Linked DNA regions of Homo sapiens: all the other regions are linked to region 3. Evidence: promoter capture Hi-C in human tissues and cell types (Jung and others, 2019). All regions are on one chromosome and are shown on one strand. Each heading gives the region's core, a stretch centred on a gene start or on the middle of the fragment in contact. The rest is flanking DNA. Distances are from core to core; before and after follow the strand shown. Region 1 has its middle 34 kb from the start of RTL6. Region 2 overlaps PRR5-ARHGAP8 (PRR5-ARHGAP8 readthrough). Region 3 holds the start of PRR5-ARHGAP8 (PRR5-ARHGAP8 readthrough).

What was found. Contacts are between HindIII fragments. The study calls those that stand out against the background at their distance.
Region 1: a fragment that was not itself captured here is called in contact with the fragment with the promoter of PRR5-ARHGAP8 in region 3 in 2 of the 25 tissues and cell types used here (IMR-90 fibroblasts and lymphoblastoid cells).
Region 2: a contact is called between a fragment that was not itself captured here and the fragment with the promoter of PRR5-ARHGAP8 in region 3, in 1 of the 25 tissues and cell types used here (aorta).

Annotation. Positions count from the first base shown.
Region 1 is chr22:44,530,470-44,534,000 of GRCh38, reverse strand. No RefSeq gene overlaps it. Among named protein-coding and RNA genes, the nearest start is that of RTL6, 34 kb to the right of the region's middle. The HindIII fragment of the contact is 8,689 bases long and covers 1-3,531 here.
Region 2 is chr22:44,832,225-44,835,791 of GRCh38, reverse strand. All of the region lies in intron 10 of PRR5-ARHGAP8 (PRR5-ARHGAP8 readthrough), which reads right to left. All of the region lies in intron 7 of ARHGAP8 (Rho GTPase activating protein 8), which reads right to left. Among named protein-coding and RNA genes, the nearest start is that of ARHGAP8, 81 kb to the right of the region's middle. The HindIII fragment of the contact is 4,769 bases long and covers 1-3,567 here.
Region 3 is chr22:44,700,437-44,704,046 of GRCh38, reverse strand. It overlaps PRR5-ARHGAP8 (PRR5-ARHGAP8 readthrough), which reads right to left and starts at 1,843. Exons shown (of 15, transcript NM_181334.6): 1 at 1,439-1,843. The coding sequence starts at 1,572. It overlaps PRR5 (proline rich 5), which reads right to left and starts at 1,843. Exons shown (of 8, transcript NM_181333.4): 1 at 1,439-1,843. The coding sequence starts at 1,572. RefSeq lists a silencer at 1,560-1,969. The HindIII fragment of the contact is 17,168 bases long and covers 1-3,610 here.

The DNA of each region.
Region 1 (3,531 bases), core at 550-3,049, 170 kb after region 3:
GGTGACCCATACATATTTGCGTATTAAGGGGAAAGATGGCAATAACTAGAGGACGTGGGGACATTTGACTCATGCGTTTATCTTTTTTTTTTTTTTTTGAGACAAGATCTCACTCTGTTACCCAGGCTGGAGGGCAGTGGCACGATCTCAGCTCACTGTAGCCTCAACCTCCTGGGCTACGGCGATCCTCCTGCCTCAGCCTCCTGTGTAGCTGGGACCATACCCGCATGCCACCGCAGCTGGCTAATTTTAAAACTTTTTTTGTAGACACAAGGTCTCACTTTGTTGTCCAGGCTGGTCTGGAACTCCTAGGCTCAAGCCGCAGCCTCCCAAAGTACTGGGACTACAGGCGTGAGCCACCACATGCAGCCATGTATCTTTTAAAAATATTTATTATTTATTTTTTAATTTTTCATGCCCCTTGCTGCAGAGTTGTGTATATGTATCTGCGTTTATGGACATATTTCTTCTAAAACATATTGAAGTATAATATGTATCTAGAAAAGTGCACCAATTCTGAGTGTGTAGCTGGGTGAATTGTCAATGGTTACAGACCCATGTATCCAGCACCCAGATCTGGATACAATGTTATCAGCACCTCAAAAACTGCCTCCTGGCATGGTGGCTCATGCCTGTAGTCCCAGTACTTTGGGAGGTCGAGGAGTGGGGATTGCTTGAGCCCAGGAGTTCGAGACCAGCCTGGGCAACCAAGTGAGACCCTTGTCTCTACAAAAAAATACCAAAAAAAACTAGCCAGGGGTGGTGGCGCACACCTGTAGTCCCAGCTACTCGGGAGGCTGAGGTGGGAAGTTCACTTGAGCCTGGGAGATGGAGGCTGCAGTGAGCTAAGATCACGCCACTGAACTCCAGCCTGGGTGACAGAGTGAGACCCTGTCTCTGAAACCAAAACCAACACCAAAACCGAACAATCCAAAACAAACAAAAAACCTCCTCCACGCCCCTTCTAGTCTCTGCTCCTCCCTGCAATAATCATAGCCTCTGTGCCATAGATGAAATAAATGCTGGCAGGATTGGAAACCGGCTCAGCCATTTTGAAAACCACTTGGCAGTATCTACTAAGCTGAACCTGAGCCCCGCAGTGACCCGGCCATCCTGCTCCGAAGGATGTTTGCAGAGGGCGGAAATGCACACAGCTGCTCACCGCAGGTGCAGAGACACCCACTGGGGTGTTCCTGACCGTTTCAGACTAGAAGTCCACCCGTACGCCCATCACAGTGGGTGGAGAGGTGCACTTGGGAGAGCCACACAATGGAATACTTCACAATAACAAGAACGCAGGTGCCACAGACAAAGGCAGCAGCGACGATGACTCTCTCAGTGTTGAGTGGAAAACATCAGACAGAAAAGATGACCCATTCCAAGATGACATTTATATGTGAAACCAGAACAGACAAAACAACCCAACAGGGCTATGTGTGGGAGGATATTTATTTTGCTTCTTTTCACTTTCCTTGTCTTCCCTTCTCTTTCTCCCTCTCTTCTCTCCCTCCTTCCTTTTCTTCCTTCCTTCCAAATTTGGGATCCCTATCCCTCTCTGTAAACACACACACACAGCTTCTTCTCTACATCAAGAAATAATAGGCTGGGCGCAGTGGCTCACGCCTGTAATCTCAGCACTTTGGGAGGCCGAGGCAGGGGGATCACAAGGTCAAGAGATCGAGACCATCCTGGCCAACATGGTGAAACCCCGTCTCTACTAAAAATACAAAAATTAGCTGGGCGTGGTGGTGTGCACCTGTGGACCCAGCTACTCGGGAGGCTGAGGCAGGACAATTGCTTGAACCTGGGAGGTGGAGGTTGCCAGGAGCCAAGATCACACCACTGCACTCCAGCCTGGTGACAGAGCAAGACTCTGTCTCAATAAAACAACAACAACAACAAAAAACCCTTTAAAATAATGGCCACCACGGATGCATGAAGGCTTGTAAGCATTTTATATGCTGATGCTTTGGAAAGTCCATGACCTTTTTCAGAAATCATCATGAGTTCAAGGTCGACATCAGGTACAGGGGCTCTGAGGCATTTGCTTAGCTGGAATGAGGGGGTGCTCGTGGCCGTGGTCACATGACAGGTGGTGTGTGCTGCACTGGTCAGGGGGTGTGCTCAGGGGAGAGGGGTATGGGACACCATCTACAGTGGCTGTTCAGCAAAAGGAAAGGTTGAGGACTGACCATTTAACCTGCTTGACTGTGTCTTTTTAAGGGCTGCAGACATTCCGTTATCTGGGTTGTTAACGGCTTTACGGAGCCAAATCTCTGCCACCAGTGTGAATAAACATCTGGGTGCCAGAGCCAAGCTGCACAGGTTCAGATCTGGGCTCTGCCAGGCACTGGTGATTCATCAGAGACAACTTATTTATCTCTCTCTCTCTCTTTTTTTTTTTTATGAGACGGAATCTTGTTCTTGTTGCCCAGGCTGAAGTGCAGTAGCGCAATCTCAGCTCACTGCAACCTCCACCTCCCAGGTTCGAGCGAGTCTCCTGTCTCAGCCTCCCGTGTAGCTGGGATTACAGGTGCATGCCACCACACCTGGCTAATTTTTGTATTTTTAGTAGAGACGGGGTTTCGCCATGTTGGCCAGGCTGGTCTCGAACTCCTGACCTCAGGTGATCCACCCGCCTCGGCCTCCCAAAGTTCTGGGATTACAGCCATGAGCCACTGTGCCCAGCAACTTATTTACTTCTTGGGGCCTCCGTTTCCTTATCTGTAAAATAAGTTTGAAAACTGCGCTGACCACATACAGTTGCTGTAAGAATTAAATGAGTTATTTATTTATTTTTATTTATTTTTTTGTTGAGATGGAGTCTCGCTCTGTCACCCAGGCTGGAGTGCAATGGTGCGATCTCGGCTCACTGCAAGCTCTGCCTCCTTGGTTCACGCCATTCTCCTGCCTCAGCCTCCCGAGTAGCTGGGACTACAGGAGCCTGCCACCACGCCCGGCTAATTTTTTTGTATTTTTAGTAGAGACGGGGTTTCACCATGTTAGCCAGGGTGGTCTTGATCTCCTGACCTCGTGATCTGCCCGCCTTGGCCTCCCAAAGTGCTGGGATTATAGGCGTGAGCCACCACAGTCGGCCATGAGTTATTATTTGTAAAGCTCTTGGTTAAGTGCCTGCATGGAACACAGTAAGCATTTAACAATGTTTTTCTACTTTTGCTCAGTTGTTTTAAAATGTCCCCCATCGTATTAGTCAGCTTTGGCTGTAATAATGCTGCATAACAAACATTCCCTGTCTCTCAGTGGCTTCCAATGACAAGCACTGTGCTCGATTTTGGGCTGTGATTGGGTTTAGGCCTGTTCCACCTGTTTCTGCCCCCCTCTCCCCAAAACCCAGGAAGAAGGAGTGGTGTCAGCTCAGACATCTCTTCTGATGGTGGGGGGCAGGAAAGCCAGAGGGGGAGTGGAACCCTGGCATGCCTCAAAGAGCCATGCCGTCCCTTCTGCCCACATCCCAGCGTTCCAAGCAGGTCTCATGACCCAGCCTTGAGGCAAGGAAGCTCTGAAAGCGAC
Region 2 (3,567 bases), core at 229-2,728, 130 kb before region 3:
CTGGGAGATAAGGAGAAACTAAAAGGGCCACATGGTCCTGCTTGCTAATAAGATCACCATCAGATCAAGTTTCTTCCAGTGGCAAAGAAGGAGTGTTAGCACGGGGTGGAAGACAACACCCAAAAGTTGTATTCTCTGAAGAGTTTGCAAGTCCCCAATCCTTCTTTTTCTTGAGACTGATTCTCACTCTGTTGCCATGCTGGAGTGCAGTGGCGCGATCTTGGCTCACTGCAACCTCCGCCTCCCCGGTTCAAGTGATTCTCCTGCCTCAGCCTCCTGAGTAGCTGGGCCTATAGGCGCCTGCAACCATGCCCGGCTAATTTTTTTTGTACTTTTAGTAGAGACGGGGTTTCACCATGTTGGCCAGGATGGTCTCAGTGTCTCGATCTCGTGATCCGCCCACCTCGGCCTCCCAAAGTGCTGAGACTACAGGCTTCAGCCACCACGCCTGGCTCCACAATCCTTCTTAATTAGAACTAGATGGTTATAAATTAAGATATAAATTCTAATCCCTAAGGCAACAATTGAGAAAATACTTTAAATATATATATATATATATAGCAAAAGAAACAAAAAATTGAAACAGTACACTAGAAAGTATGTATTTAACACAAAAGAAGGTATTAATGAAGACATAAAGGAACAAAAAAGACATATAGAAAACAAATAGCAAAATGGCAGATGTAACTCCAGTAATCACACTAAATGTAAATGGATTAAATAATCTAATAAAGAAGGTGGAATGGGGAAAAACATGACCTAATTATATGCTGTCTGCAAGAGACACAATTTAGATTCAAAGACACAAATAGGTTGAAAGTAAAGAGATGAACAAAGATACACCATGCAAACAGTAACTAAAAAGAGCTATAATGGCTATATTAATATCCGACAAAATAGACTTTAACACAAAAATTGTTACTAGTGGCAAGGAAGGACATTTTTTTTATCATCATGCAAGGATTCATAAGAAAGTAAGAATCATAAAAATGTATGCACCTAACAATACAGCCCCTAAACATGTGGAGCCAAAACAGACATAATTGAAGGGAGAAATAAATAATTTTAAAATGATACTGGAGACTTCAATCCCCCACTTTCAATAATAAATAGAACAACTAGGCAGAAATTGACAGAGAAACAGAAGACTGAAAAATACTAAAAACCAAGTAGACTTAATTGACATTTATAGAGCACTCCACCCAACAATAATAGAATGTACACTCTTCTCATGTGTCCGTTGAATATTCTCCAGGCTAGACCATATGTTATACCACATAACAAGCCTCCATACATCTGAAAGAAGTTAAATCATACAAAGTAAGTTATCTAATTATAATAAAATAAAATTAAAAATCAAAAACAGATATGTGAAAATTTAACAACAGACTCCTAGAAATCAATGAATCAAAGAAAAAAATTACAAGATAAATTAGAAAATACTTTAAGATTAATTAAAATCATGGAAATAATACACTAACAGATACATCTATTGCAGGACTTAGTAATTTATAGCCATAGATGCTTACATTGCAAAAAGCAAGATTCTAAAATGATAAACATTCCACCTTAAAAAACTGGAAAAAGAAAATGAACTAAATCTGACACAGGCAGAAGGAAGAAAATAATAAAGACTGGAGTAGAAATAAATAGAAAATAGGAAAATAACAGAGAACATCATCAAAACCAAAAGTTGACTCCTTGAAAAGATCAACAAATTGACAAGCTTTTAGCTAGACTGACCAAGAAAAAAAGGGTGAAGATTCAAATTACTAAAATCAGGAATGGAAGAGGAAACATTACTAGTGACATTATACAAATAAAAGGATTATGAAGTACTATGAACAATTACATGCCAACTAATTAGAAAACCTAGACGAAATGAACAAATTCCTGGAAAGACACAAACAATCAAAATGGACTCAAGAAGAAATATAAAATCTGAATAAATATAACAAGCAAAGAGGTTACATTAGTAATTTTAAAACTTCCCACAAAGTAAAGCCTAAGATCAGATGGCTTCAGTGGTGAATTCTGTAAAATGTTTAACAAATTAACTCTAATATGGTACAAATTCTTCCAAAAAATAGAAGAGGAGGAAACACTTCCCAACTCATTCTGAGGCCAGTATCACCAAAACCAGACAAGGATATCATAAGACAAGAAAATGACAAACTAATACCTCTTATAAATATAAATACAAAATCCTCAACAAAATACAAGCAAAGCAAATCCAGCAATATATGAAAAAGATTATACACCATGAACACAAATGATTTATCCCAGGAATACAAGGTTTATTCAACATGTAAAAATCAATCAATATAATACACCATATCAACAGTATAAAGGACAAAAGCCATGTGATTATCTCAATGGCGATGAAAAGCATTTCACAAAACCTAACACCTTTACATGAACAAACCAACCAACCAACCAACCAACCACTCAACAAACTAGAAATAGAAATGATGTTCCCAGCCTGGGCAACATAGTGAGACCCTGTCTCTACTAAACACATTTAAAAATTAACCAGGCATGGTAGTATATACCTATAGTACCAGCTACTTGGGAAGCTGAGACAGGAGGATCACTGGAGCCCAGGAATCTGAGGTTGCACTGATCTATAATTGCACCACTGTGCTCCAACCTACGCAACAGAGGGAGACTCTATCTCAAAAAAAAAAAAAAAAAAGAAAAGAAAAGAAAAGAAAAAAGATGGTTCTTAACCTGATAAAGGGCATCTATGAAATGCACACAGCTAACATTATGCTTAGTAGTGAAGGACTGTTGATTCTTTTGTGTGTGTGTGTGTGTGTGTGTTTTTAATAGACACAGGGTCTTGCTATGTTGTCCAGGCTAGTCTTGAACTCCCGGCCTCAAGTGATCCTCCCACCTCAATCTCCCAAATAGCTGAGAATATAGGTACATGCTGCTTAGCCCAGCTTAACTGCTGATTCTTAAGATCAGGAGTAAGACAACCATGTCTGCTCTTATCATTTTTATTCAACAATGTATTGGAGGTTACAGTCAGGCATAATCAGGCAATAAAAGGCAATAGGTTGAAAAGGAAGAAGTAAAGCCATCTCTATTTGCAGATGACATGATCCTGGATATAGAAAATTCTAAAAAATCCACACACAAAAATATTAGAACTAATAAACAAGTTCAGTAGGGTTGCATGATACAAGATCAACATATTTAAAAAATGTATTTCTAGAACCTAGCAATCAGTAACAAAAAGATAGATTAAAAATTACATTGACAACCGGGTGTGGTGGCTCATGCCTATAATCTGAGCACTTTGGGAGGCTGATGCAGGCAGATCACCAGAGGTCAGGAGTTTGAGACCAGCCTGGCCAACATGGTGAAACACCATCTCTACCAAAAATACAAAATTAGCCAGGCGTGGTAGCACACACCTGTAGTCCCAGCTACTTGGGAGGCTGAGGCAGGAGAATCACTTGAACCCAGGAGGCAGAGGTTGTAGTGCGCCAAGATTGCACCACTGCACTCCAGCCTAGGCAACAGGGCAAGACTCTGTCTTTAAAAAAAAAAAAAAAAAAA
Region 3 (3,610 bases), core at 594-3,093:
ATTGAGGACCTGACTTGCTCAAGACCACAGAGTAGGGAAGAGGCAGAGTTGGGATTTGAAATAAGTCTATTTAACTCTTTCCTCTAAATCACGGCAGAGATTCAAGGACAGAGAGATGGCTTTCATCTCAATACTGGAGGAGAACACTGCTCTTCTTTTTTTTTGAGATAGGGTCTTGCTCTGTCACCGAGGCTGGAGTGCAGTGGTGGCATCATGGCTCATGGCAGCCTCGACTTCCCTGGCTCAAGTAATCCTCCCATCTTGGCCTCCCAAAGTGCTAGGATTACAGGTGTGAGCCGCCGTGCCTGGTGGAGAACACAGCTCTTAAGACACTGTGCAGTCGTTGGGTCAGGGAGATTTCCCAACAGGAGTCCTTCCTTCACTGTTCCCACACCAGCCCTCCCCACAGGGAGGAATGCGAATACCCACTGACGGAGAGGGAAACGGAGGCAGGCATGTGACAGCCCTCTAGCAGTTTGCAACTCAGAGACAGAAGAGACCACGTTTGAAGAGGGTCTCGCTGGCAGCCCTGAGCCCACCATGACGCTCACAATGCATTCAATGAACTGAAAATAACGTGTGTCCAAGTGACAGCCGGGTTCCCGGTGGCCAAGACCACAGCCGGTGGAGCATCTGGCAAGATTTTACTGCCAGGTGTGGGCGCGAGAGGGGCAACGTCCACAGCCTCCCCCGAACAGTGTCCACAGCCTCCCCCGAACAGTGTCCACTGCCTCCCGCGAACAGCCTGCCTCACTTTCTCCTGCCTCTCATTTTCCTAGGGAGCAGAGACGCTGGGGAGTTCCACTAAATAAACCGTCTCTTTTCCAGATCCCGGACTTGCTCCTCAAACAAAGCTGGGAGAAGGGGCTTCCCAGGCCCCTGCTTGTCTGGGAATGACCCCTGGAGGAGAGTCCTCTAAAGAATGCCTCGCAGCTGCCGCACCCCCTGCTGACAGCTGGAGGACAGGGGGCCTCTCAAGGGAAAGCCGAAGGGAGCTTAAAGAGACACAGGAAGCCTGCGCGACCCACCCACTGAGCCCCGAGGCTCCCGTGCTCAGCCGCAAAATGGGAAAAATACTTCCTGCTCCGTTAGCCTCCCAGGTTGTCACGAGCACCGCAGTGGAGACGTGGAAAGACCCCGGGTAGGAGGCGGGCACGCGGCTTCCCGGCCCACCCCGCCGCCCACCCGCCGGGCGCTTCTGGGCCAGCCCCGGGCGCTGGCGGGCCTCGCTCCCTTCCCTGGGTTCTGGAACCACGCTGCACTGAACTTTCCTCCAGGCCCGCACCACTCCGGCGGGGCAAGTTCTTTGCAAACTGTGAAGCGCCGCGCCGCCTTCGGCAGCGTTCCTGGCTCGGGGCGGCCCCTAGCCCGCGGACGGCTCAGGGGTCCCCTCCCCCGGCTCCAGGGCCTCCGGGTGGCCGGGAGGGCGCGGCCTTACCTGTTCCAGGTGGCGTTGGCGCAGGCCCGGCGCTGCTGCGTGCCCCGCTCGTCCGCGGCGGCGGCCGGCTCTCTCTTGCCCAGGTCACTGAGGCTGGGCGAACTCATGAACTTCAACCTGCGGAGAGTCCTCATGGTGACCCGGGCCGCCTGCGCCGCGCCCACGCGCGCCCCACGCCGCGCCCTGCGCCACGCCGCACCAAGGGCCCCGGGCCGGCGATGCGCCCTCTACGCGGAAACTCCGGCGAGAGCAGGAAGCCGAGCGGTCCTGCGGGGTCCCGCCCCGGCCCCGCGCCTCCGTCTCGGGTCCCGCGCCGGCCGCCCCGCCGGGTTAATCATTGCACGGAGAGGCTCAGCGTGGAGCGCCAGGCGCGCGGCCAGCACAGACCCGGCGCAAACGGAGGCCGGGGGCGGACCCGGGGGCGGGCCCAGGGGCGGGTCTCGGCGCCCCGGGGGGCGGGGCGGGGAAGGGGGCGGGGGCATCGCGGGCGGGGCGGGGCCTCAGGCGAGGGGGCGTGTGCAAGAGGCGGAGCCGGCGTCTCCGCGGCCGCAGCTGCCACGACGCCTCGCTGGGTCTGCCCTCTGAGGACGTGCTCACCCTCCTCCCCTCTTCCGAGGGCCCCACGTGCCCACAGGAAACCAACACGCACAGGACGCAGGGCCCAAGCCCAAGCGCCCGCCCCCCGCCCAGCACTGCGGTCGCGCCCACACGATGTCCTTCGACCCCGGCCCCGGAGGTCTCCCTCCACAGCCCTCCTCGCAAAGGCTGTGCCACAGAGGTGCCTCCGTACCCCTCACCTGAACACAGGCTCCCCCACCCAGTTCTCATGAGGACTTTGGGTAGAGGCCTTCAGTCCCCTCCAGGCACCTTGGCCCAAGAACCCACTCCACCCGGGCTCAGCCTAGACCCCCTTGGACAGGGACTTCAGCATTGCCTGGCTGCCTGGAGGATTTGCTGGAGTGAGGGCTTGAAGAAGTAGAGGGTTTGCTCCTTATCTCCCACCCCCAGGTCTCTTGGATGGTAAAACCAAGCAGTTTCCCAAGTCCCTGTGGTGGGGGCAGAGTGATCCCAGTGAAGGCAGGGCACAGCCGGTGCTTCCTGCCTGCTTCGCAGAGCACTTTTAGATGTCTGATTTCACATGAACTAACATGAACTACTTCCGTGAGGTAGAGATTATTCTTCTCCCCATTTTCCAGTTGAGGACATTGAGGCTCACAGAGTGAAATAACTTGCCCAACATTGTGCCAACATTGTGCAATCAACAAATGGTAGAGTTGGGCTTCACCACAGGGAGCGTCCAGCCCCTTGAACAGGGCCCTTCCCAGTCCCCAGCTTCTGGGATTCCCACAAGGCTCACCTGACCCCTCCATCAGATGGGGGGTGACAGCCACAGCTCCAGGAGCTGGGAGGGCCCCATATAAAATGTAAGAGAGAGGTGATGGCTCATGCCTGTAATCCCAGCACTTTGGGAGGCCGAGGTGGGAGGATCACCTGAGGTCAGGAGTTCAAGACCAGCCCGGCCAACATGGAGAAACCCCATCTCTATTAAAAATACAAAATTAGCTGGGCGTGGTGGTGCATGCCCGTAATCCCAGCTACTCAGGAGGCTGAGACAGGAGAATCGCTTGAACCTGGGAGGCAGAGGTTGCAGAGAGCTGAGATCTCGCCACTGCACTCCAGCCTGGGCAACAACAGCAAAACTCCGTCTCAAAAATCATCATCATCATAATAAAATAAAATAAAAAGTAAGAGAGCCTCATGAAGAGTCTTTGTTTAGTGCAAATCAACCAGTGTCTCCTGAGTACCTCCTGTGTTCCAGACATAAATACCATCGTCTTTGGGAGACAGAGACATAAACAGACAAACTTGCTCATCAGTAAAGCGGGATGGAACGGTTCATCTCACAGGCAGCTTGGGGCCCACAGGCAGCAACAGGTGCTTTATAAACTAACTGTCAAGTGCTGTACACGTTTTCTTTTCTTTTTGAGACAGAGTCTCACTTTTTGGCCCAGGTTGAATGCAGTGGCACCACTGTGGTCACTGCAGCCTCTACCTCCTGGGTTCAAGCAACCCTCCCACGTTAGCCTCCTGAATAGCTGGGACTACAAGGCATGTGCCACCATGCCTGGCTGATTTTTTGCGTGTGTGATGGCGTTTCGCTCTTGTCGCCTG